Regions from separate parts of the Homo sapiens genome. Here all the other regions are linked to region 2. The links are contacts of gene promoters, found by promoter capture Hi-C in blood cells and fetal thymus (Javierre and others, 2016). All regions are on one chromosome and are shown on one strand. The core of a region is centred on a gene start or on the middle of the fragment in contact, and the rest is flanking DNA. Distances in the headings are between cores, read along the strand shown.

What was found. Contacts are between HindIII fragments. The CHiCAGO score rates a contact against its expected background, and 5 or more counts as called.
Region 1: a fragment that was not itself captured here is called in contact with the fragment with the promoter of RPS3A in region 2 in 2 of 17 cell types (total CD4 T cells and naive CD8 T cells); the score reaches 6.3 in total CD4 T cells.
Region 3: a fragment that was not itself captured here is called in contact with the fragment with the promoter of RPS3A in region 2 in 4 of 17 cell types (naive CD4 T cells, monocytes, fetal thymus and 1 more); the score reaches 10.2 in naive CD4 T cells.
Region 4: a contact is called between a fragment that was not itself captured here and the fragment with the promoter of RPS3A in region 2, in 1 of 17 cell types (non-activated CD4 T cells). The highest score is 5.6, in non-activated CD4 T cells.
Region 5: a contact is called between a fragment that was not itself captured here and the fragment with the promoter of RPS3A in region 2, in 1 of 17 cell types (non-activated CD4 T cells). The highest score is 7.0, in non-activated CD4 T cells.
Region 6: a fragment that was not itself captured here is called in contact with the fragment with the promoter of RPS3A in region 2 in 1 of 17 cell types (total CD8 T cells); the score reaches 5.7 in total CD8 T cells.
Region 7: a fragment that was not itself captured here is called in contact with the fragment with the promoter of RPS3A in region 2 in 1 of 17 cell types (monocytes); the score reaches 5.7 in monocytes.

What each region holds. Positions count from the first base shown.
Region 1 is chr4:152,791,822-152,795,276 of GRCh38, reverse strand. All of the region lies in intron 1 of ARFIP1 (ARF interacting protein 1), which reads right to left. Among named protein-coding and RNA genes, the nearest start is that of ARFIP1, 14 kb to the right of the region's middle. The HindIII fragment of the contact is 5,339 bases long and covers 1-3,455 here.
Region 2 is chr4:151,097,383-151,100,892 of GRCh38, reverse strand. It overlaps RPS3A (ribosomal protein S3A), which reads right to left and starts at 1,265. Exons shown (of 6, transcript NM_001006.5): 1 at 1,179-1,265; 2 at 305-408. The coding sequence starts at 1,240. RefSeq lists enhancers at 342-925, 946-1,505, 926-1,510, 809-2,008, 2,286-2,355. The HindIII fragment of the contact is 1,842 bases long and covers 777-2,618 here.
Region 3 is chr4:152,638,256-152,641,571 of GRCh38, reverse strand. It overlaps TMEM154 (transmembrane protein 154), which reads left to right. Exons shown (of 7, transcript NM_152680.3): 6 at 587-644. Among named protein-coding and RNA genes, the nearest start is that of TMEM154, 40 kb to the left of the region's middle. The HindIII fragment of the contact is 1,336 bases long and covers 935-2,270 here.
Region 4 is chr4:152,769,436-152,772,787 of GRCh38, reverse strand. TIGD4 (tigger transposable element derived 4) reads left to right here. Exons shown (of 2, transcript NM_145720.4): 2 at 1,246-3,352. The coding sequence starts at 1,784. The coding sequence ends at 3,322. Among named protein-coding and RNA genes, the nearest start is that of TIGD4, 8.6 kb to the left of the region's middle. The HindIII fragment of the contact is 1,083 bases long and covers 713-1,795 here.
Region 5 is chr4:152,683,680-152,687,328 of GRCh38, reverse strand. No RefSeq gene overlaps it. Among named protein-coding and RNA genes, the nearest start is that of TMEM154, 5.5 kb to the right of the region's middle. The HindIII fragment of the contact is 1,919 bases long and covers 823-2,741 here.
Region 6 is chr4:152,559,703-152,563,127 of GRCh38, reverse strand. No RefSeq gene overlaps it. Among named protein-coding and RNA genes, the nearest start is that of MIR4453, 25 kb to the right of the region's middle. The HindIII fragment of the contact is 633 bases long and covers 1,297-1,929 here.
Region 7 is chr4:152,848,959-152,852,286 of GRCh38, reverse strand. The region is part of intron 2 of ARFIP1 (ARF interacting protein 1); the gene reads right to left. Among named protein-coding and RNA genes, the nearest start is that of ARFIP1, 71 kb to the right of the region's middle. RefSeq lists enhancers at 1,031-1,689, 1,576-1,870. The HindIII fragment of the contact is 1,666 bases long and covers 1,103-2,768 here.

The sequences.
Region 1 (3,455 bases), core at 5-2,504, 1.7 Mb before region 2:
GCAAAAAAATCCCTATGGTATGTTATGTTCATGTAAGAATGAAGGGGGATATAAGAAAATACACATTTCTACTGAAAAAGCAAAAACAAACAAACAAACAAACAAACAAACAAAAACACCGGAAGGATAAACCAGAAACTAAAGAGATAGGTTACCTACCCTGGGCAGGTGAGAAAGGGGTGGAAAGAAGAGTGAAAGGGCTTGGGAACAGAGTAGCAAGGCTAAGGATGGAGTGACACTTCTCTGGATACACGATATATTTTGTAATAATTCTGACTCTCAGAACCATAGTAATTTCCACATGCTGACATGGTGTCAGAAAATAAAGAAAACTTCAAAAACAGATGGGGGTTTGTTGAAAGAACACAGGAGCCAACCTGAAGGAGCCCATAACAGCCAATGCTGGAACGAATACAGCAACAAAATAAATGATAGTACTAGATCAAAAACAAGGAGTAAAATATTAATGAGTCCATATTGATATAAACAATCTGATAAGTAAATGGAGGAAAAGCGACAACTCTTCTTCACAATAGACGATAAGTAAATTAACATAGGAAGCAAAGTGGGAAACAATCAACATCAGGCAAATATCACAAATACTGCAGACAAGATCCACTTGAGAGATGCTAAAATTAGAGAGCAATAGTTTGAGGAGAAACAGGATTTACACAGTCTCCACGTAGCTCCAACAAGATACTTACCAACTAAAAAGGGAAAGATAGTAACTTCACAGTGTAAAAACAACACACTCAACCAAGTGATCAAGTAATCATAAGTAGTAAGACATATATCATAAACCCCTCAATACAATGCACTAAGAAAGACACAACATCATTTTTGTGGTATTCTTGCCAAAAATGCATAGGCTCAGTCCAATCATGAGAAAACATCAGACAAACCTAAACTGCGAGATATTCTAAAAATAACTGATTAGTATTCTTCAAAAGTGTCATAGTCATAAAAGACAAGCAAAATGTTAGAAACTTTAAAAGAGACTACGGAGAAATTGCTAAATTCAATGTGAGTTCCTATATAGGACCCTGGGACTGAAAACAGACAGTAGTTGAAAATTTGGTTTCATTCTAATAAGAGCTATAGTTTAATCAATAATATTATATCAATGTTCATTTCCTACTTGTAATAATTATATTATGGTTATGTAAGATGTTAGCATTAGGGGAAATGGGGTGAGGAATGTAAGGGAACTCTACTATTTTTGCAGCTCTTCCGCAAGTCTAAAATTAGATGAAAAGTTTTTTAAAAACAGTAAGAAATTCTGAACAAAGGTAGAGGAATTACCCTTTAAATAAAAGAAGAAAATCTCTTCCAGTGAGGCCAGAATAAAGGAAGAAGGAACCTGTAGAGATAGTGAAGAGTAACATGGAAAAATGGAAGGTTCAGGCAGTTCGTTTTTGCTGTCTTACTTTCTTGTGAAATAGGAGTTATCATTTGACCGCCTGTATAAAACAGCACCAATGAGGAAAATATAGTAGGTCCCCCACCTTATCCATGTTTTAGCTTCCCACAGTTTATCAGCTGTCAACCATGGTCTGAAAATAAACCTCTCTTCTTTATAAATTACTCCGCCTCAGATATTCCTTTATAGCAACTCAAACAGACTAAGAAAATATGTTGTTATAATTGTTCTATTTTATTATTACTGTTGTTAATCTCTTATTGTGTCTAATTTACAAATTAAACTTTATCATAGGTATGTATGTATAGGAGAAAACTTAGTACATATGGAGTTTGGGACTATCCACAGTTTCAGGTATGTGGGTCTTGGAACATCTCCCCCAAGACTATGGGAAGACCACTGTACATCATTATCATTCAGCTCTGGAAAAGACCAAATAACTCAAGGCAGATAGAGAAACATAAATCAAATTTCTGAGAATTACAGAGATAGGTACTAAATATTATATATATATTATATATATATATATCATTTTTTTTTTTTTGAGACGGAGTTTCGCTCTTGTTGCCCAGGCTGGAGTACGATGGTGCTATCTCGGCTCATTCTTTAAGTGCTCTGATCCACTTCATATTTATTTCTTAAAGGTCTTCTTGTTTATAACTTTGATAACAAAATACATGGGAGTAACAAGACTTAAGAAGTTAATGACCTATATAATTTATGCTGTTTAGGTTATACATTTTCTAATTTTTGTATGAATTCAGTTATCTTTGAAAGCTGTCTTTAAAACAGAGTGATAAATTACTATTACAAAACCACCACTGATGTTCAGCCCTCACAAACCAGTTATATTGGAGGCCAAAATGTCATTAAGTCATCTCTGGGGGTTCTACTGTAAATCAGCCAGAGGTATTTGCTAACAAAAGAGTGTAAGAACCAAAGACCTACAAAGTGAATTATTAATTAGAATTTGTCACCTCAAGTTTAAAATCCATCCAACTCTTTGTAGCTGCTTTGATTTTACTATAAAAATCACATTTTTATATATACATACTGAATAGACCAAATCTATACAGAGGAAAACCTTGTAAGATCATTTCCCAAATTTTAGTGAGGGAGAGTTTTATACTCTACCACTCTTAAATGCATTTAAGGTCTTCTTAGCACCCAGGAAAGAGAGGGCAGGAGGTATTAGATTTGCCAGGATCCCTAAAACCCCTTCAGAGTCTCCATGACAACACTGAGTTTAAAGATTCAGAAGTCTAATGATAAAGGATCTGTGGCAGGAGTGTTGTTGAACATAAATCATAATGGGAGCTTTTCAAATTCAGGTACTCATATAACAGGTGGTCTGAAGTGGTATGCCCAAGACACAGGAGGGCAGATACAACCATAGCAGACAAGATAAACATGGCACATCATACTGGAATATGAATTTACATTATTTTTCACTAAATATAGAATCTAAAGCAAAATTCACTTGAATAAAACAACACACATAAGTCTTCAAAGAAATTTACTGAATTTTTATGATAAAATATGAGTCTTCAAAGAAATGTCTAAAGGGTTATTACTCTTTCTAAAGGTACTTTAGTAAAAAAAAGTTTGAAAAGTACTATAAATAATGATATACAGCATCAAGAACTTCTGACTGGTGAGTCAAGGACAATAAAAGGAGGTAAATAGAAAACACTGAGAGCAAAAAGTAGCAAAACTTGGGCTTGTTTTAAAGTGATTTTGCTTAGTTTCTTTAGACTTGATATTCCAGAGATCAGTTATTATTCTAAAGATTTTTTTAAGTGGCTCTATTTCTTTCACTTTTGATGAAATCTACTGGAATATGCCCATCTTTTCTCATTCATGGATAAACAGGAACAGAATGGTAAGATCAGTTTTTTCTTTACCATTAGAATATATTTATTTTGCAAGTTATTTTTAATGCTTCAGCCACAATTTCCACATATTTTTATATTACCACAACTTTTAAAAATACTTTTTAAACATCAGATACAGAATTTGTTCGAGGTTAAAAAGG
Region 2 (3,510 bases), core at 16-2,515:
GTTAATGGTAAATTATAAAGACCTTAACCTTTGTTATCAAATCTATCCAGACACCAGTGACTTATCAACAGTACTTATTTGAAGCTCAGAACTACCCATGGCACATTTTCTTAATTCAAAAAGCACCATCTTGCTTCTCTCCAAGTGCTGTACTAAAAATGATCACCACAGGTGCCAAGGCTGCAACCAAGAGCTGACATTTCCTTAAAGTCTCCCACCACAGGACCAACAACAGACCAAGATGCCTGCTACAATATACAAGCGCCAACTTAAGGAAAATACAAACCAAGAATAAGCTACTTACTGGTTCCTTGGGTCCTGGTGACGAGCGTCTTTCCAATATTTCTTATATTGAACATAGCAGGTGCTTTCACATCATACCAATCTTTCTTAGAAAATGGATCAACCCTGGATTTTAAGAAGATGCTTAAGTTCCATTGCAGATCAATTCTTACTGTATTTTTCACTGTTAATGGTATTTCCCATTAATATTTTAAAAAGCTAACCGGCAATTTGATACCAAAGTATATCTCACAGTGAGGTGAGGGGAACAAACATAAATCTAGCTCTTCCCACTGTACGTTTCACTGCATGCATCAGACTTTGAAAGGTTATGTCCACTTCCCACCCTCATCGGTCCATCCACTACACAGGCACTTAGAATAACATGCATCGGTCCTTCCACTACACAGGCACGAGTAACATGCAATCTCATTAACTTTGCTGGCACGTAATGGCATGTACTGGTAACTAAGAGACTGCATGGCCCCAAAGCTTAGCAGGAGCTCGCAGATTCCAGCGGGACCAAGCAAAGGCGAGATTGACGGGTCCTGAATGGATAGAAGGGTGCTTTCCTCAACTCCTGCTGTCGCAGTGCCATCAAACACTCGCAGAATTGAGGCAGCTCGTGAGCCCACAAAACTAACATTCCAGCCGAGTCGCGCCGGCAAGCCGGCTCAAACGCGACGCGCGCAAGGACCAGAAGGCCTGGGAAAGGCAGCCGACCTGCCGCTACTCAACACCGACCCTCCAGGCCGCGTTCCTGGGTGCACCAACCCGCCACGGCCCGCACAATCCGACTGGAATCCTCGCCATCCGGCCTACGCCGCGATCTAGGACCAGCCCGCCGATTCCAGCAGACCCCCAAAAAGCAAGACGCCACGACAGTCGCGACTTACACTTTCTTCTTGGCTCCCTTTTTGCCGCCTTTCGTAAGGCGCTTGTTCTTGCCAACCGCCATGGTGCTGGTCAGAGAGCCAAAAGGGCGGAAGTGGGAGTCGCGCGAGAACTTAGGCGTACGGGGGCGGGGCGCGCCGTCTACGTGACCTTTGCCCTGTTATTCTTCCGGCCTCAAGAATTCCGGGACAGTAGAGAGCGCCACTCTTTCTACTGTGGTTGCGACATCGCCATCGTGTGTGGGGAGGCCGCGCGGCATGCCGCGGGCTCACTGGAGGCTGCGCTGTGTAGACCAAGGCGTCGGTGGCCTGACGTGCAGGCGTCTGGTTACCTGTGGTTTCTGTGGCTGTGACGTCGGGAAGTAAGTTTCTGTAAAACGAGACGCCCACTCAACATCGTTCAAAGCTGAACTCACCGTCTAACCCCCAAACCTGCTTTTTGAGAGCATTGGCTTTGGAGTCAGTCAGCGGATCTGATTCAAATGCCGGTTTCAACAGGGCTTTGCTTGAGACCGACCTCTCCACGCTTGTTTCCTCATGCGTAATATGGGGGTGATAAAACGGTCGGCTTCATGAGGTTTCATAGGGCTAAATGAGCATCACTCCAGAGATGCTAGCGACGTTCTGCTTGTTGATGTGGATGCTGGTTCATCTCAGGTGTTGTTGCTTTGTGAACATTCACTAAGCTCTACGCTTATTTGTGTCCTTTTCTATATGTCTGTTATATATTGATTAAAAGGTTTTTTTAAAATAGAGTGAGACCGAACTCGTTGGCTCACACCTGTAATCCCAGCACTTTAAGAGGCTGAGGCAGGGGAATCAACTGAAGCCAGGAATTGGAGACTAGCCTGGGCCACACAGCCAGACCCCGTCTTTACAAGAAAATGATAAAATTAGCAGGGCGTTGGCCGGGCGCGGTGGCTCACGCCTGTAATCCCAGCACTTTGGGAGGCTGAGGCGGGCGGATCGCCTGAGCTCAGGAGTTCGAGACCAGCCTGGCCAACATAGTGAAACCCCGTCTCTACTAAACATACAAAAAATTAGCCGGGTGGGTGCCTGTAATCCCAGCTACTCGGGAGGCTGAGGCACGAGAATCTGAGCTCAGGAGGCGGAAGTTGCAGTGAGCCGAGATCGCGCCATTGCCTGGCCAACAAGAGTGAAACTGCGTCAAAAAAAAAAAAGTGAGATCTCCAAATGTTTCCATTTTTGCAACTAATCCAAACCCGCCTCCCCCATTTTTTTTAACTGTAGGGGTTAACAGAGCACATCCTGGCAAGGTGTGGCTGGCTAGCTCAAGTGTGCAGCCCTCGGAAAGCATCTGGCCCATACAGGCTTGGTACTCAGCCAGTGGTGTGTTGAGTTCCCTTCTCTAACTTCCCCTCTGGCAGAAAACCCTGTGACCAAGCCAAAACCAACCCTTACTTACAAGGCCCCCTGCAAGCTTTTAAACTTACAATCCCTTCCAGTCCTGCTAGCCTCCATCCCCTACCTCCCACTACACCCACCCCCCAAGACAACCTTCCTAAACCTCTAGTAGGGTCCTGAAATCTTTCAGTAATTCCATAAATCTCAGTTGCCTGGAGGATAAATTCAAAGTCTTAGTTTCATAATAGTATGAATGTACTTAACACTACTGAACTCTACACTTAAAAAAGGTTAAGGTAGCCCTGCCAGGTGTCTCAGGCCGCTAGTTCCAGGTATTCGGAAGGCAGAGGCAGGAGGATCACTTGAGGCTAGGAGTAGGACTCCAGCCTGGGCAACATAGTGAGACCCCATCTCTTTTTTAAAAAGATGATTAAGATGGTTAATTTGGCCAGGTGGTGGCTCATGCCTGTAATCTCAGCACTTTAAGAGGCCAAGGCAGGAGGTTTTCTTGAGCTCAGGAGTTTGATACCAGCCTGGGCAACATTACAAGACCTAATCTCAACTAAAAATAAAAAAAAATTAGCCCGGCTTGATAGCTCATGCCTGTAGTCCCAACTACTCGGAAGGCTGAGGTAGGAGGATCCCCAGCACTTTGGGAGGCCAAGGCAGATGGATCACTTGAGGCCAGGAGTTCGAGACCAGCCTGGACAACATGGTGAAACCCCGTCTCTACTAAAAATACAAAAATTAGCTGGGCGTGGTAGTGCACACCTGTAGTCTCAGCTACTCGGGAGGCTGAGGTACGAGAATCGCTTGAACCTGGGAAGTGGAGGCTGCAGTGAGCCGAAATCACACCACTGCACTCCAGCCTGGGCTGGACAGAGTGAAACTCCATCTAAAAAAAAAAAATATATATATATATATATATATGTATGTATATGTATATATTATGGGCCCCCAGTCTGCCTAC
Region 3 (3,316 bases), core at 353-2,852, 1.5 Mb before region 2:
AATCATGATTCTGTCATACTCACTAAAACCAGAAAACTGGAAAAGGCATTTCTATTTGACAACTAAAGCTGAGTTATTTTGACACATAGGTGATAGAATCAAAGAATTTTTTTGCCCTTAAAAATAACGAGTGGTGTAATAGAAAAGAACTCATGACCATAGGAAGATCAGCTGTTTTCCCACTTTACCCAATTCTTTCCTACCGTGCAATCTGATGGAAATCATTCTGCAGACACGTTGGAACCTCAGGCGAAGCCATCTTATTCCACTGTCTATCCTGAGACATGCAGATTCTAGCTTTTGGAGCACTGGGGTGCTGCAGGGACAGAATAACCAAGCAGTGATGAATTGTGTCCTTTCCAGTGTCAGAGGCATGTTGAAGTTTTGCATCTGTGTTATTAGTGCTTTTTCCATTTCAAGAGCCTTGACATCATTAATCTTTTCATCACTATCACTCCTTGGTGAGGCCATTTTTGTGCAAGTAACCACGCAGATCAGAGAACTATGGTATTTAACTGTATCAGGTTTGTGGATAGAAAATACGATTTCAGTAACTAACAATGAGTTTGCTTTTATTCTGTCCTAGCCGACTTTGAATGTTTACCTACCTTGAAGGAAGAGAAGGAATCAAATCACAACCCAAGGTACTTCTCATTTCTACCACAGATTACATGTATATGGCGGGGGGCGGGGGGATTGGGAACCAGGGTGGAACACTTTTTGCTTACCTCCTCCGTGCCTATAATTCGTATGAGATCATTTACGCGGCTGGATATGTGCATAGTGTGGAGAAGAGGAAGTGTGTTACAGAAAATAGAAGGCCACAAAGTAAATATCCTAGGACTCTTTATCTTTAGAAATAAATGAGTATTGACATTTTCTTGCCCTTCTAAAGAGACACTGTTGCTTCAGCTTCTGTTTTAGTCATAAAGCTTTCCAATTATGACAAACTGTAGGTTTGTTTACCTTGGATAAATAGATGTTTGGTAAGGAAAACAGATGGAGGCGACAGTCTTAAAGTGGGTAACTGTAAACTAGAGTGAGAAAATAAATGGGAATTTTTAAAAAATGTTCCATTTTACCACTAGGTGGCTCTGGTTGATAGAAAAATTTTAGTGCTTTGGGGTTTGGGTGTATAGTTTAGCATTCCACAATCTCATTTTAAATTATATTATCTTTTGTGAGGATAGAAATGACCACATTTGGGGTGTTTTGATTAGAGAACTGTTTTGTCAGGACATGGGAAGTGTTCTAAGGAAAAAGGTTGGATGGTTCAGAAGGTTGGGGACTGGCTCTGCAGAGCTCTGCTGTGACCTTGGAGGTACTGAGTTGTTGGCAGCAAACACTCATGGACACCCGGAGAGAAGAAAACTTGAGCCTATGCCTGAGATATCACACTTCTGTTGGAATAAATGGAATAAACCTTCAGGCAGGATAAATCCTCTCCCTCCATGTTCACCAGAAGTCTGGTGCCAGTCAGTCACTTGTCACCAGGCAACCCCTGAAGCCTGAGCATCGCGAGGGAATACTGATTATTAGGCAATGGTTGGGGGCAGTCAGATGTTTATCTTCGGACCCTTTTCCTGCGTCTCCCCCCTAAACCTCACTTAAGAATTCACCATCCCAAATCTCTCCTCACATCACACCACCACAGTCTTACTCAGACAAACCTCAGCTCTGATGCCAAAGTCTATACCTATTGTAGATTTAGGTCAATATCACCACCCTAGGCATTTTCATGTTAAGATTATTGCCAGTTCAGGAAGGATTCTATCCTATTTAAAAGAGATTCCAGGTCATGCTTGGTGGCGCTTGCCTGTAGTCCTAGTTACTTGAGAGGCTGATGTGAGAGGATTGCTTGAGCCCAGGATTTCAGGATTGTAGTGAGCTATGATTGTACCACTGCATTCCAGCCTGGGCAACAAGCAAGAGCAAGACCCTGTCTCTAAAAGAAATGGGGAGAGAGAGAGGGAGAGAGAGGGGGAGAGAGAGAGAGAGAGAGATTGATTAACAAGCAGGTGGAAGAAAACAACAATGCCAGGGGGAATATTACAAAGGAATATTTTCCCCATGTTTTGATCTTACCTGGAAATATGTAACTATATATGTCTGGTATAGGGCTCAGATCACTACTAAAACTCCATAAATATCTTAAGTATCTTATTACTCTATCACTGATGAGCAACCTCAATGATGCTAAAAACTACCCTCAGTGGTTTTTACATTCCTGCCTTTTGCTCTTTGAAATTGTTGGCAACATGGAAGAAGCTTAACATTACAGAATTGTATGGCAGTGAAATCTTCTTAAAAATCAGATTTTTGGCCAGGCAATGTGGCTCATGCCTGTAATTCCAACACTTTGGGAGGCTGAGGCAGGCAGATCACCTGAGGCCAGGAGTTCGAGACCAGCCTGGCCCACATGGTAAAACTCCATCTCTACTAAAAATACAAAAATTAGCCAGGCGTTGTGGCGGGCACCTGTAATCCCAGCTACTTGGGAGGCTGAAGCAGGAGAATCCCTTCAACTGGGAAGGCGGAGATTGCAGTGAGCACTGATCACACCATTGCACTCCAGCCTAGGCAACAAGAGTGAAAGAAATTCTGTTTCAAAAAAAAAAAGTCAGATTTTTGAAATAATGAGAAAATGAGCTAGAGCCTTCACATAGTTAAATGATTGTTTTAAAAGGGAAGGTCTACATTCCACTGTGGGTCCAGAGCTGTGTGGCATTCACAGGATGGCTGTCAGGCCTTCACTTTATGCCCTCTCGTAATGCCAGCACCAGCATTCGAGAACCAAGAATGGCAAGTCCCAGATCTTTGTACCACTAGGCACTTTCTGATTACTTCAAAGGTTATTATGATATTGCAAAGTTAATTTTTTATTCATTAAAAAATCTAAGAAAAGTACATTGGATTTAGAACAAAGCCCAGAACAAAGTAAGTTCTCAATAAGCACTGGTTATTGCTAGTATAATTATTAGGAAGTTAGGACTGATGTACAGAAACTCACTGCCTTTATACTAAGACCCAGCTCACTGGATTAAAAAAAAATTCACTTCCTTTATCCTAAGCCTGTATCCTAAGACCCAGACACATCAATACTGGTGGGCGAAGCATTATTTTTGTCCCTGTGTTCCCTGGTGGTTTCTTTCTGGACCTACCAATCCTGGGAAATCAGGAATTTGTTTGATCTACTATGAGACTTTCAGTTCTCCTTAATTACTGGCATAGGCCCATTAATGTTGGTGATTTCAGAATAGTCCACTTATCACTCTGGAGTTTTTTGGTGTTTTGTTGTTTTGTGTAGAGACAGACT
Region 4 (3,352 bases), core at 5-2,504, 1.7 Mb before region 2:
GTGAGCCGAGATTGTGCCACTGTATACCAGCCTGGGCGACAGAGTGAGACTCCATCTCAAAAGAAAAAAAAAAAAGAAAAGCCCTACTTTGAGTATAGATTTAAGGTGGGATTCTTGCTTCTGTTTGCAAGTAGGATTTTATAGTTTTCCAAATTGTAGATTCACACAGCCAAAAGACATGAGAGAGATAATGATGATGAGATCATCACCACCTATTTGTTGAGCACTTTCTTAAAGTACTAAATACTGTGCTACGTGCTTTACACTCTTTCATTGAATCTTTTTGAATGCACAATAATGAGATAGGTGCTGTAGTTACTCCCATTTTACAGATAAGGAAGCTGAAGCTTCATATGGTTAAGTAAATTACCTGGGATCACATGAGTACTAAATAGCAGAGTCACTTCTCAATTCAGAACTGCCTGGCACCTTTTTTTTTTTACAGATAGAAAGTAGAAGACCTGAGACGTTAAGACTTGTGGTCACTATCCTTCCTGTTCTTAGTCTACATCTTTTTCTGCATTATACTCTCCTAATTGTTTGTTTCTATGCCTTTTGTCCAGTATTTCTGGCCTCTGTACCTTCAGCTAATGTGTCAAATTAATACAAAAGTTACTGAGTTCTTAGCCTACTAACAGGATAAGGGTTAAAAAAGAAAAAAGAGAGAAAAATTTTAAATCATAAAAATAAAAAGGTATTGGGTTTTTAAGCTTTTAGGTCGAATGGGATTTAGATTTTTTTTAAATAGAATTGTCACTTGATTTTTTAGGGAAGCATTTTCTGTCAGACTCCTATAAAAGAGACACTGTCTCCCATATGCTATTAAAAGTTGAACCTTGTGACTACTGTCTGAGTATGTTTTCTTTTGGAGAAGTTAGAGGGTGCAGTCTGTGACCTCATGTGAAAAATAGCCACCAAGCATCTATCCAGCATCATTTTTAGTTCTTTAATTTTGGTAAGCCCACATTTTCAAAATAGATTAAATTTATCTGATTTATTTCAGAACTATATATTATAAAGCATTCAAAGGCAAGTGAGAATTCAAATCTGTAGAACAGAACTAGAGAGCTTTTACAGAGAGGCCTTTGGGAGGTAAGCATTTCTCTTGGAAACTTTATTGTATTTTCAGAACCATGCTTCTATTATTTTCATTATTAAGAACATAATAATTGGGTATAAGCATTATTTTAATATTCAATTGACATATCGCTAAAATTGCTTTTTTTTTAATTTTTCAAACAACAGAAGAAGATATACTGGCAAGTTCTAGAAGGATTCTACCATTTTCTTCTTTACCATGAACAAACTTGAAAATTAATGGGTAATAGTTGCATGAAAACTTTTGAACGTTTTTTCTTATCTCTGAGGCCTTCTATGGAGAATTAATAGGAGGTTGAATGTGTGCATGGATAAAATGGATCATCTTAAAGGATTGAAGTTCCAAAAATACATCAGCAGGACTGGACAGGTTTTATATAATGAGATTTCTATTTTAGCTTGACTTCTACAACTCTGAATAAGCTATAAACTGAGCTATACAAGGTACTAGGAAGGAAGTTTCTCTTCTAAAATATTCTAGTTGCATATAATATTTTTCTTCAGATCTTTGAAAAAGCATATTTTGTCATCAAGTTCCTACAAAATAAGACTATTAGACACCAACTTTTAGTGTATAAAGTAGGATAGAAAGCAGCAATCTATATTATACTGGAAAACAAATTTAATTAAAGAAACAGTCACCAGGAAGTTAAGAAGAGTAATCTCTACATAAGCACTGGCTGAGATGGCAGAAGCTTCTGTGGATGCCTCAACTCTGCCTGTAACAGTGAAGAAAAAGAAAAGCCTATCCATTGAGGAAAAGATCGACATCATAAATGCAGTGGAAAGTGGCAAGAAAAAAGCAGAGATTGCTGCTGAATATGGAATAAAGAAAAATTCATTGTCTTCTATTATGAAGAATAAAGACAAAGTTCTAGAAGCCTTTGAATCTCTAAGATTTGATCCAAAGAGAAAAAGACTGAGAACTGCTTTTTACACAGATCTGGAAGAGGCATTAATGAGATGGTATCGAATTGCTCAGTGTCTAAATGTACCAGTTAATGGTCCGATGTTACGTCTAAAAGCTAATGATTTTGCCCAGAAACTGGGCCATAATGATTTTAAGTGCAGTAATGGTTGGCTGGATCGTTTTAAATCCAGGTATGGTTTAGTATTCAGAGCTCAACCTGTAGAAGCTACAGGTGTACCAGTAGACCCTTCGACTGTCTGGTACCAAAATGTACTTCCTTATTATTTAAATGATTATCATCCTAAAAATGTTTTTAATATAAAAGAGACTGGGCTGCTTTATCGAATGTTACCTACCAATACATTTGCATTTAAAGGCGAAACATGTTCAGTTGGAAAGTTATGCAAAGACAGAATAACTCTGGTGGTTGGCACAAACATGGATGGCTCAGAGAAACTTCCTTTGCTTGTCATTGGAAAAAAGAGAACTCCACATTGTTTCAAAGGTTTAAAATCATTGCCTGTGTGTTATGAAGCTAACAGAATGGCATGGATGACCTCCGATGTATTTGAACAATGGATGCGAAAGCTTGATGAGGAATTTCAAGCCCAGCAACGAAGAGTGGTGATTTTTGTTGAGTCTTTTCCAGCACATCCAGAGGTAAAGAACCTAAAATCCATTGAGTTAGCATTCTTTCCATCATGTTTATCTTCCAAATGTATAGCTATGAAACAAGGTGTTATTAAAAGCCTTAAAATCAAATATCGACACTGTCTTATCAAGAAATTTTTAAGCTCTGTTGAAGGTAGCAAAGAATTTACATTTTCACTACTAGATGCAGTTGATACATTGCATCTTTGCTGGAGGGCTGTAACCCCAGAGACTATTGTTAAAAGCTATGAAGAGGCAGGATTCAAATCTCAAAAGGGAGAAAGTGACATAACAAATGCAGAGAAGGATACTGGTCTGGATTTGGTTGCTGATGCTCTGGGGGCAGGAGTAGAATTTCCTGAAGGTTTATCTATAGAAGAATATGCTGCCCTGGATGATGATTTGGAGACATGTGAAGCAGCACCAAATGGTGATTCCATATGCACCAAAGAAAGTAAATCGGATGAAACTGGATTTTACACTTCTGATGAAGAGGATGATGATGGATCTCCAGGAACTGAACTCCCTTTACCATCAAAATCTGAGGCAATAACTGCTTTAGATACTCTGAAAAAATTTCTCAGAAGTCAAGATATGAATGACGGACTTCAAAATTCTTTAGCAGACCTTGAAAATTTTATTAACTCTTTATCACCTAAGTAACTATGTATTGTACATCTAAAGAGTAATAGC
Region 5 (3,649 bases), core at 533-3,032, 1.6 Mb before region 2:
GAGTCTGGGTTTCTGATTTTGTGTTCTGCTTCACATTATGGGGCTCATCTTCGAAGATCATATAAATGCAAGATCACAGAAAGACAAGAAGGCAAGTCAAAGTCTGTGATGGCTCTTAGAGACCTTTGACCACACCCAGCACACTGTCTCTCCCATCCATATATCTTTGATCAGAGCAAGTCATACATGGCCTGGCCCAGCATCAGAAAGGCAGGGACATAAACTACCAAGTTGCAAGGACATAGATGAAGAACTGTAATTCAGAAAAGGCATGAAGAACCGGGAACAATGATCTAGTCTACTCCAACGGATTGCCAGTTTTCACGAAGAGAGAATGTAACAATGAGATATGTAAGCAAGTGACCTCTTGCTGCATAGCAAAGTTGTTGTGGACCTTTGGGTGCTAAAGCATGGTTACCAACACCAGTGCTTATTGTTATGTGTTCGTAGCTGAGACGATCATCACTGTAGACATGACGACTTTTGTTCCTGGCCTCAGATAAGCTTTGCATTTGCTGCTTCACAGATAGCGAAGCAACCACATCATGTTTCTTTCCGGTGTATTTGCCTGTTTATTTCCTTCCTCCTGCCCTGATTTCACAACTGTCATGCTTCTCCAACCCACCCTGTTTATGGCTGTCTATTTCAATTCAGTGATGCCCAGCTGTTTGGCAGTTCTGGAAGGCACCACCCTCTATTCTTATCCTGGCAGGACTGTGATGTTGCTGTAAATACAGGCCTTCGTTTCTGGATCTCAGTGATGATGGAAAGGCTTGAGGACCTGGCTGGGTTGTTTGTAGCAGGTCCATGTCTTTAGAAGCTTAGGTCTACCTTTGCCTCTGAAAATCTTTGTATGCGCCTCCCCACCAGGAATCTGATAGACTCATGGAATGTGAGTGCCGGGTCTTAGAGATCATCTACTCAGCCCTACTGTTTTACATATAAGGCAAATGGAGGCAAGAGAATCTCATTAGTGAAAGAACTAAGACTGGGACCTTGGGCTTCTGGTGCTCAATCCAGCGGACCCACCATGTCTCATCACATCCATCCTTCCCTGGAGAGAGTGCATTGCATTGTTACTGAAATTATCATGAATATAAGTGGCAGGATAGTAAATGAAATTCTATAAACATAATATGCATTTGGGAGTCCTGGACACTCTCTGTTTATACACCTACCTGAACCCATCCAAACTAGGAAATTAGACCATTTGATCTACAAAAAGGAGGCCATTCTAAAATATAAACATAAGGAGTTAATTCTTAGCTCTTGGTCCTCTAAGGACTGAAGAACCAATGTTGTATTTTAGAGACAACTTTCCCTATCAACTCTTTGGCATTCTGGAGGCAATTCTAGAAAAAAACGGAAGTGGGGGTAAAGGGTGGAGCAAGGGAGGGACCCAGAAATAACTGAAGTTACTCCCAAATACCTGGGAAATCACTAAACTGATCATATTAGTAAGTGACTGCATTTGGTTTACCACTAGCAGAAGAATTGGAATTCAAAGTTGATGCTGTAATAGAAAACTAGAGCAAGTTACCATTTTCCCATATCTGAATTTGTTACCTGGGAATTCTATACCTCCGGCCAGTTAGCAGGATTGTCATACCAACTGCTAGTACAGGAAACAAAGTGGAATAACACTGCTAGTTAATATGTATAGAAAAAGATCTGGAAGAACTTAAAAACAGAATAATTTTGATTCTGCTTTTTATGTATTTTTAGTTTTTCCACAACAAACATGTATTGTCTCTGTAATATGAAAAATAAGTTATTTAAATTGAAAACTAGTCACCTGTTACCTTCTCTCACCTGATACAATATCCTCTCAAATTTTGCTTATTTCTGGCACTACCCACATATATACCCTGGCACTGGATATACCCTAGCATCTTTCCTAATTATTTTATTTTATTTTATTTTATTATTTTTTGAGATAGGGGCTCCCTCAGTTGCCCAGGCTGGAGTGCAATGACGCAATTATAGCTCACAGCAGCCTTGAACTCCCAGGCTCCAGTGATCCTCCTGCCTCAGCCTCTTGAGTAGCTGGGACTACAGGTAGGTGCCACCATGCACGGCTAATTTTTTTATTTTTTGTAGAGACGGGATCTCACTGTATTGCCCAGGCTTTCTTTTATAATTTGCTACATCCTCCAAATCTTTTGTTCCTTTGTTTTTTCTAGTTCCATTGGTGTTGAAGATTTAGTTCGCAAGGGCACTATCAACTGTGAATCGGGAAAGTCAAATTCAACAGAAAAGCAAAAGAAGAATCATTGAGGCCATCAATCTGCATGTATCATTCTGGAGTGGACTTTGGTATAAATACTATATATTTATTAATGAGGTATGTCCTACTTGCAAAATATTTGGAGAGACTTGGGTGGAAAAGGCCTTAAGATATGATTTGATCAAAAACAAAACAGCAATAGAAGAAGAAGTCTAGTTCCTTTTAACAGATGCAGGAGACCACAGATGAGTGAGACGAGGGTAATCAAGGCGGGGAGACAGAGACACAGCCAGGTCTTCTGGTTGTATTCTGATGGGTGTTATGTGGGTGGCAGTAAAGGATGAGCATTTTGTTCAGCTTGGGTTAGGGGGAGGAGGAAGGCTTCTAAGATAGCTCCCTGGTGGAGATGTCTTCTAAATTAGGGCTAGACAGATGAGTTACAGTTAGCCAGGAAAAGAAATATTCCTAGAAATGGTAAAGACACCTGGGCTAATAAAAGTTACACAACCAAGCTTCAACTTTTAGTTCCAGGCCTCCTGGCAGTCAAGGCAAAACAGGAAAATACAACGTGCTTTTTATTTCTTACCTTTGGAGAAAAGGGACCTTTCTAGGAACTAGCAATAATTTCCAGGAACTAACTAACACATGATTCTCGAGTTTTATCTATCATGCATAAAAATCCCCTCAAACATTACAAATACAGAGTTATGGACCTCAGCTCTAGGGATTCTGACTCAATAGTTCTGGCATAGGGTCCAGGACTCTGAATTTTAACAAGCTCCCCTGAATAATTCTAACATAGGTGGCCCCCTCCAGTGCACTTAAAAAAATACTGCTGTAAAGGGATTTTCCCCCCATTTACTCACTTCTCTGTTCTCTGTCCTAAATGCTGAGGATAGACTGGAGAGCAAGACAGAGAATGCCATTGCTCTCAGAGGGCAATTAGAGGAGGACTGTGGATGTTCAGCAGTGAGCTGCTGCTCTGTCTCTTAGATACGCCCCAGCACCCTCTAGCCCAGAGCGCTGCACTGTGTCCCACGTGTCAACTGCCACTTTAGCTCCTAATCACAATCCTTTACAGTTTCATGTTGTGGTGACCAGGCCATCTACCTAGGCCCTGGAAGACCCTGTCATGGAAGCCCCTAGGATTATCCAAACCTTGCAACAGTTTCTCTGAAGAGTATTGGCAGCCAGGATGCAGAGACAGAGACCCCCAAGGGTGGAGATAGGCTGGTCAAGATGAGCCCGGCTGTGCAGGCTCCAGCTGCCCCCACTTCACGCGCAGTGAGATGGCTGTCAGCCCCTCTCCTGGCTGTGGCTTCTCTGCACACGCTAAATGTCAGCCTAATCCTTCTGCCCCAGCCTCTGCCCTGCCCGGCTACCTCTCTGGGCATTCCTTCAGAACCTGGGACTTCAATCTGC
Region 6 (3,425 bases), core at 364-2,863, 1.5 Mb before region 2:
GGCAAGCAGGCAAAGGGGTTGATTTTGTTCCATCCTTTGTCCAATTCCAGGTGATTATAGTGTGTCACAGATGACTTACAAAATCATACATACATAAACTTTCTGACTGTTTTAAGAGATCCTAATTCTGATATTCATTTATATGCACCTTCAGTTTTATTGAGATGCTTTCCCTGTCTTCTTACATTTAATCTTGAGCCTTTGTTTTTGACCCAATCACTTTTACTTAAATTCATACTAGTCATACTCCCTAAAGTGTTTATTTCTTCTTTGGCAGTAAATATTTTCCATCTTGAAGAATCTTGTGGTCAAGAGAATAAAACAGCTCTTTTATTTGTTTGAGAAAACAAATAAATAAATCTGAGAACAATTAGAAGTTCTCAGATAAGGAGCAGTTTATTTTCTTTCTATACCACACATTGACTAGCAGTCCTGTAGTTGGCACTCAATAGTTACTTACTCAAAAGAAAATAGATGCTAACGAGGGCCAGGCGTGGTGGCTCACGCCTGTAATCCCAGCACTTTGGGAAGCCGAGGCGGGCAGATCACGAGGTCAGGAGATCGAGACCATCCTGGATAATATGGTGAAATCCCGTTTCTACTAAAAACACAAAAAATTAGCTGGCGTGGCACGCGCCTGTAATCCCAGCTACTCGGGAGGCTGAGGCAGGAGAATCGCTTGAACCCAAGAGGCGGAGGTTGCAGTGAGCCAAGATCACAAGACTGCACTCCAGCCTGGGTGACAGAGCGAGATTCCATCTCAAAACAAAACACAACAAAAAACAAAATAGATGCTAATGAATATTACCTTGGATATTACATTCATTTGTTCACCCAGTTTCTGATAGCTCCTTTTATATCATCCTAGAATGAAAGTCAGGGGCACAAGGCCAGGCGCGGTGGCTCACGCCTGTAATCCCAGCACTTTGGGAGGCCAAGGTGGGCAGATCTTGAGGTCAGGAGCTCGAGACCATCCTGGCTAACATGGTGAAACCCCGTCTCTATTAAAAATACAAAAAAAAAATTAGCCAGGCGTGGTTATTTGCTAGGAAGGAAGATCTCATTATTCTTTAGGTTAAAAAACAAAAACAAAACACAACATAACTAGAGACCACCTTTTTGGGGGCAGTTGGCTGTAGTCCCAGCTACTCGGGAGGCTGAGGCAGGAGAATGGCGTGAACCCAGGAGGCGGAGCTTGCAGTGAGCCGAAATCACACCACTGCACTCCAGCCTGGACGACAGAGCGAGACTACATCTCAGAAAAAAAATAAAAAAAGTCAGGGACACAATAAAGCTTCATAGACTTTTTAAAAAAAATTAATAGACTTTACTTTTTAGAACAGTTTTAGGTTTACAGAAAAATGAACAGGAAAGTACGGGGAGTTCCCATATACCTTCTTCCCCTACCACAGCTGCCCTCATTATTAATATCTTGCATTCGTGCGGTACATATGTTATTTATAACTGATGAGCCAATATTGATACATTATTATTAACTAAAGTCCATAGTTTAGGACTCAAATTTGAACCTCATTAGGGTTCAATTTTGGTATTGTACATTTTATGGATTTTGACATATATATAATGACATGTATCTAATATTACAGATTATACAGAATTGTTTCATTGCCCTAAAAATCCCCTGCCCTGCTCTCCATCGATTTATCCTTCTTTCCCTCCCTGTGAGCCCCTGGCAATCATTGATCTCTGTAGTTTTGCCTTTTCCAGAATGTATGTAGTTAGAATCATATGTATCTATTGCAAACTGGCTTCTTTCACTCAGTTATATGCTGTTGTTTCCTCCACATATCTTCATGATTATAGACTTTAAACACTTCGTCATCTCTATTAAACACCTACTATGTGCCATACATGGTGATGGGTGCTGAGTAGACAAGACAAACAAGATTACTGTTCTTGATCTAAGCTTTGAAATTGTTCAATATTCAGTGTCCAGCAACAATGAATTTTCCAAGGCAACAAGCACTGTTCCCGGTATGCTGAAGCTCTTCTCTTCATTCCCTGAGGAAATCACTTGCTTACATCATCATCTATGAGGAGATCAATGTTACCCATAATCCCATAACTGATTTACCATTTTCCAGACTAACCAGTACCAGCTCCTTCATGTAACAGGAATGAGCCCTCCTGATTTAGTTTACAATGCAGATCCTCTTCTAATTTTTTTTTTTTTTTAAGAGACAGTGCCTTGCTCTGTCACCCAGGCTGGACTATAGTGGTATAATCATGACTCCCTGCAGCCTTGAACTCCTGGGCTCAAACCATCCTCCCACCTCAGCCTCCCAAGTAGCTGGGAGCACAGCTGCATGCCACCATGCCCAGCTAATTTTATTTATTTATTTATTTATTCTTTTGTGGAGACAGGGCCTTGCTATGTTGCCCAGGCTGGTCTTGAACTCCTGGCCTCAAGTGACCCTCCTGCCTCAGACTCCCAAAGCGTTGGGATTCGACACTGAGTCACGGCACCTGGCCCTATTCTAATTCTTGACTACAAAACTTGATGAAGGAAGAGAAAGGCAACTGCCCCCAAAAAGGTGGTCTCTAGCTGTGTTGTTGTTTTGTTTTTGTTCTTTAACCTAAAGAATAATTAGATCTTCCTTCCTAGCAAATAACTAACATACATCAATTCATTTCTGCCTATTGTCAGCAATAAAATCTAAAATTATAATTAAACTTTCAAAAGACAATTTATGAATCACCAATAATCTTGATGAAAAAATACATAAGGCATCCTCCAAGTCTTTGGCTGGTTTTTCCCCCCAAGATAGGCAAGATACTCTTATATATGGTAGGTTTCATTGGATTAACAAATGGAGGAATCTAGTCCTAGGTTCTAATCAGTTTTGTTTCATTTAAAAACATTTCATGTTTCATGCTTCTTATCCTTGTTCATTATTGTTCACTCTTAAGATGGAACTAAATTGATGGATCTCCATGATAGTTAATGGCAGTTTTAAGTTTTCAGTGAATGTGGGGCATAGTTTACCGTAATTTAAGGAGCAAGAATTTATCCTTTTACACAGAGAGTACTTAAGCCATTTGAATTCTGCTGTGTTTATCTCCTGATAAGACTAGATAATGTTAAAAATTGAATATATTACCAAACAAAGCAGTCTAATTGTACATATAATATTAGAAACAATAGTTCTAAGAACATGAAAATATACAGCAGACCAGTAAGTTATTTTAGTTTTGTTTCCCCTTTAAGCACTGAGGTTTTCTGTACTACCCGTGTATTACAGAGTCATGAGAACCAAACCGGTTTTAGCCAGATTAGAAAATAGACTACATAGGATGATATCATGATGCTCGAAGAGATGAATTAAATAATTAAATCTCTGATTAATACAGGAACACAATGGTGATACTGAGATACCCTATTTGTCATTGAATCTTTTCCTAGA
Region 7 (3,328 bases), core at 686-3,185, 1.8 Mb before region 2:
AGTATCTGCTACTGAATTTACTCCTATATTTTCCAGACTATATTTCAGAGACAATGGACCCATTTATAATTAACAACATAAAATTCCTAATTTGCATTTTTATGTTGCTGACATTCAATTCAAAGTTTAACACTTTGCAAGGCCAAGCTTAACAAGTGTATAATAAAATGGGATAAACCTGAGTTAACCTTTTATTCAAGCTTTTAGCATAATGCTTGAGTATTTAATAGTTTTTAAAAATATTTTTCAAACAATTAAGCTAAAACAAAATATGCTTTTGGCAAAAGCTCCAAATACATTTTTGTACATTTTAGGTACTTTTAAAAGAATACAAAGTAATATTTGTAGTAATAGCTTTCATAAAGCTGTGAAAAATAACGTCTCCATTTTGCATATTTTAATAGAGGTTACTATAATTATGACATTAAAAACATAAGTTTAGAACTTAAAATTTAGCATGGTAATACTTTTGAACTGTAGTGTAAAACCAACACATGAAGAACACAAAATGTTCAGTAAATTTGTTTTAAAATATATATCCTTGAGAATGTCCTAAGTCTCACTCCTCTTTTGCCCTTGATGACTGAACTTGTTTCCCATGTCTCTAGTACTGTCAGTCCCGCAATCAATTCTTCAAACTAGACAGAGACAGTTTTCTAAAATGTGAACCCAACTGAGACACTCCCATTTTTATAGCATTTAGTGGCTCTCCATTGCCTTTTAGGTAAAGACTAAACTCTTCAATATGGTTTTCAAGGTTTTGCAGGATCTACTATCTACTTATCTCTCTAGCCTCATTTCTCACACACCTGCCCTCACATTCTCCATTCCAACAACATGAATTTCCAGTTCTATGGTCTCACACTTCCTTCGGGTTGTTACAGTTGCTTCTGATGAGAATATTTTTCACCCTTTATCTGGCTAGGTCATCCTTCAGACCTCAGCTTATATAGTAATCACTCAGGTAATCTTTCCATGCTCCCACCAGTACTCAGACCATGCTATACTTGGCCTAGCACAACATTTTTCACATGGTATTAAAATTAATTTGTCTATATCCTCTCTTCCCATTCCGAAGACCATATGCTAAGATCAGGAAGCTTATCTATCTTGTTCACCACTTGTATTCTTGACATCTAGCAGAGTGTCTATTACTTCATTTGGCAAGAAATTTTCTCAGTAACATCTCATGCTTCAAAAGGGACAAAACCTTCCAAAGCATCTACATAATAAATTTTTTAAAGAAACAAACTAAAACACTTATGTTAAATGTTTGATGAATTCTGTTAATTTAAAATCTCCTTTGTTAGTTTAACAGTTAGCTGTCTATAAAAAGTATCTGCCAGAAGCAAAGCTATTATTACAACAGCCTCCACATCCCCAGTTCTGTAACACTATTAACCCCCCTTAAGTGGCCTCTCTGCTTCTCCACAATTATCTTGAGTTTTATAAAACTGATTATCTTCCAACATTCTACTTATCAATATTCTATTGTTAGAAGGCAGGGTCAGCATTTTCTAAACTCTCTATTGGTACTTCTAAACAACCAGTTCTCAAACCTTAATTTCAGTAGGAATCACCTGAGGATCCTGTTAAAAATGCAGATTGCTCTTAGCTGTGTGGTGATTCTCACTGAGTTGGAATGTGAAGCCCAGAAATCCGAATTTCAAAACAAGGAAATCAGGTGATTCTGATGCAGGCGATCCTTAGTCTATTTTGAGGAACTGTTGTAGAGAACTGCTTTCCATTCTTGTGCAACTCTGCCCCTACCCAACCCCCCCGTTTCCTGTGTGTCACCTTCCTCACTGCCCTCGTCCCCACCTCAACATTGTCATCTACCTTCTTTCCAGTCAATTTCAAATATTTATTGAAGACTTTGGCACATCTAGGGCTTCTGCTTTATCCCTAACTCTCACCATTAAACTGGGTGTTTCTAACCTTTTGCATGTTGGTGGGCACATTTTCAGGAAATGATTATAGATGTTCAGTTAGCAATTCCTTCCAAGCTGATATATTCGCTGTCTAGGCTGAAAGTTTTCACCGATCATTAAAAATACAGTCCACTAATGTTATGGTAGGTAGTAAGTTGCTATATTTTAAAATATAAATTGTAAAACACTTAAAATCTGTTCCATGAGCCTGCCTACCTATGCTGATGCAGAATGACAGGGGATAGTAATAATGATATGTAAAGGTATGTGATTTTATTTTCCCTCCGTATACTTGCAGAAATGCGTAAAATTGGTAATCTGGATCAGGTTTGGGAATCTGTAGTTGGACAACATGCCAAAAAAGTGTCAGGGCAGATAAAAGACATTTTAGACTTAGTATAACCCAATCTACACCTTAGTCTCAGATTTCATTAACATCTTCATTTCTAATGCCTTTCATCTTTCATACCCCATATTCCACTCAGGCAACCTAAACTCAAATTGCCACTCTTAGACCTTGTCATCACTTCGGAAGCAACACTTCTAGATTCTCACTTTAAATAAGTTTAATAACTCACTTTATGATCACAATATCCTCCTGTATCTTATTCCATCTAATCAAGAGAGTAAATCTAACATTTTTATTGATTTTTTTCCATTTACCACCATACACACACACACCTGCCTGCCACAGACACACAATTTCAATCTTCTTTTCTCCCTCTCTCCCATTCATTCAACAATATTTAACAAGAACTTACAAGTACCTTTTGGTGGTTCACTGCCTACCCTCTTGGCCTCACCCACTTAGTCTAGATTCTAAGTAGTTCAAAAGCTTGAATCATGTACCAACTTGCATCAAAGAAATACTGAATTCATTCACATACTATCACTGTGGAAATATTTATATGTATCTACATTCAAAATAATTCCTTCAAAAAATTTAAAAACGACATATTCCTAATAGCTTTTGTTTATAAATAACGACACACTCTCAGATTATAATTTAAGACAGATAAGCCTTCAACCTTTCATTATGAATTGTATTTTCAACAAAATTCCTCCAAGAAATAAAAAAAAACATATTACTAATAGCTTTTGTTTATAAATAAGGGCACACTCTCAGATTATAATTAAGACAGATAAGCCTTCAACCTTTCATTATGAATTGTATTTTCAACAGGACTCTCAATCCAGAATTAATTTAATGTATGTGTATATTAAAAATATACTTAAAATTTTAATTTGTAGTAATAGTATTAAAAGTATAGCCTATAGCTGAAAAGCAAACAGTATTAAAATGAATCTAGATTTGTATGGGTTAAACAATCCTTGAAAACCATTTGCCATACCTCTAAAAGGGATCAACATACATATTTGGTCAAAACTGGCTCTCT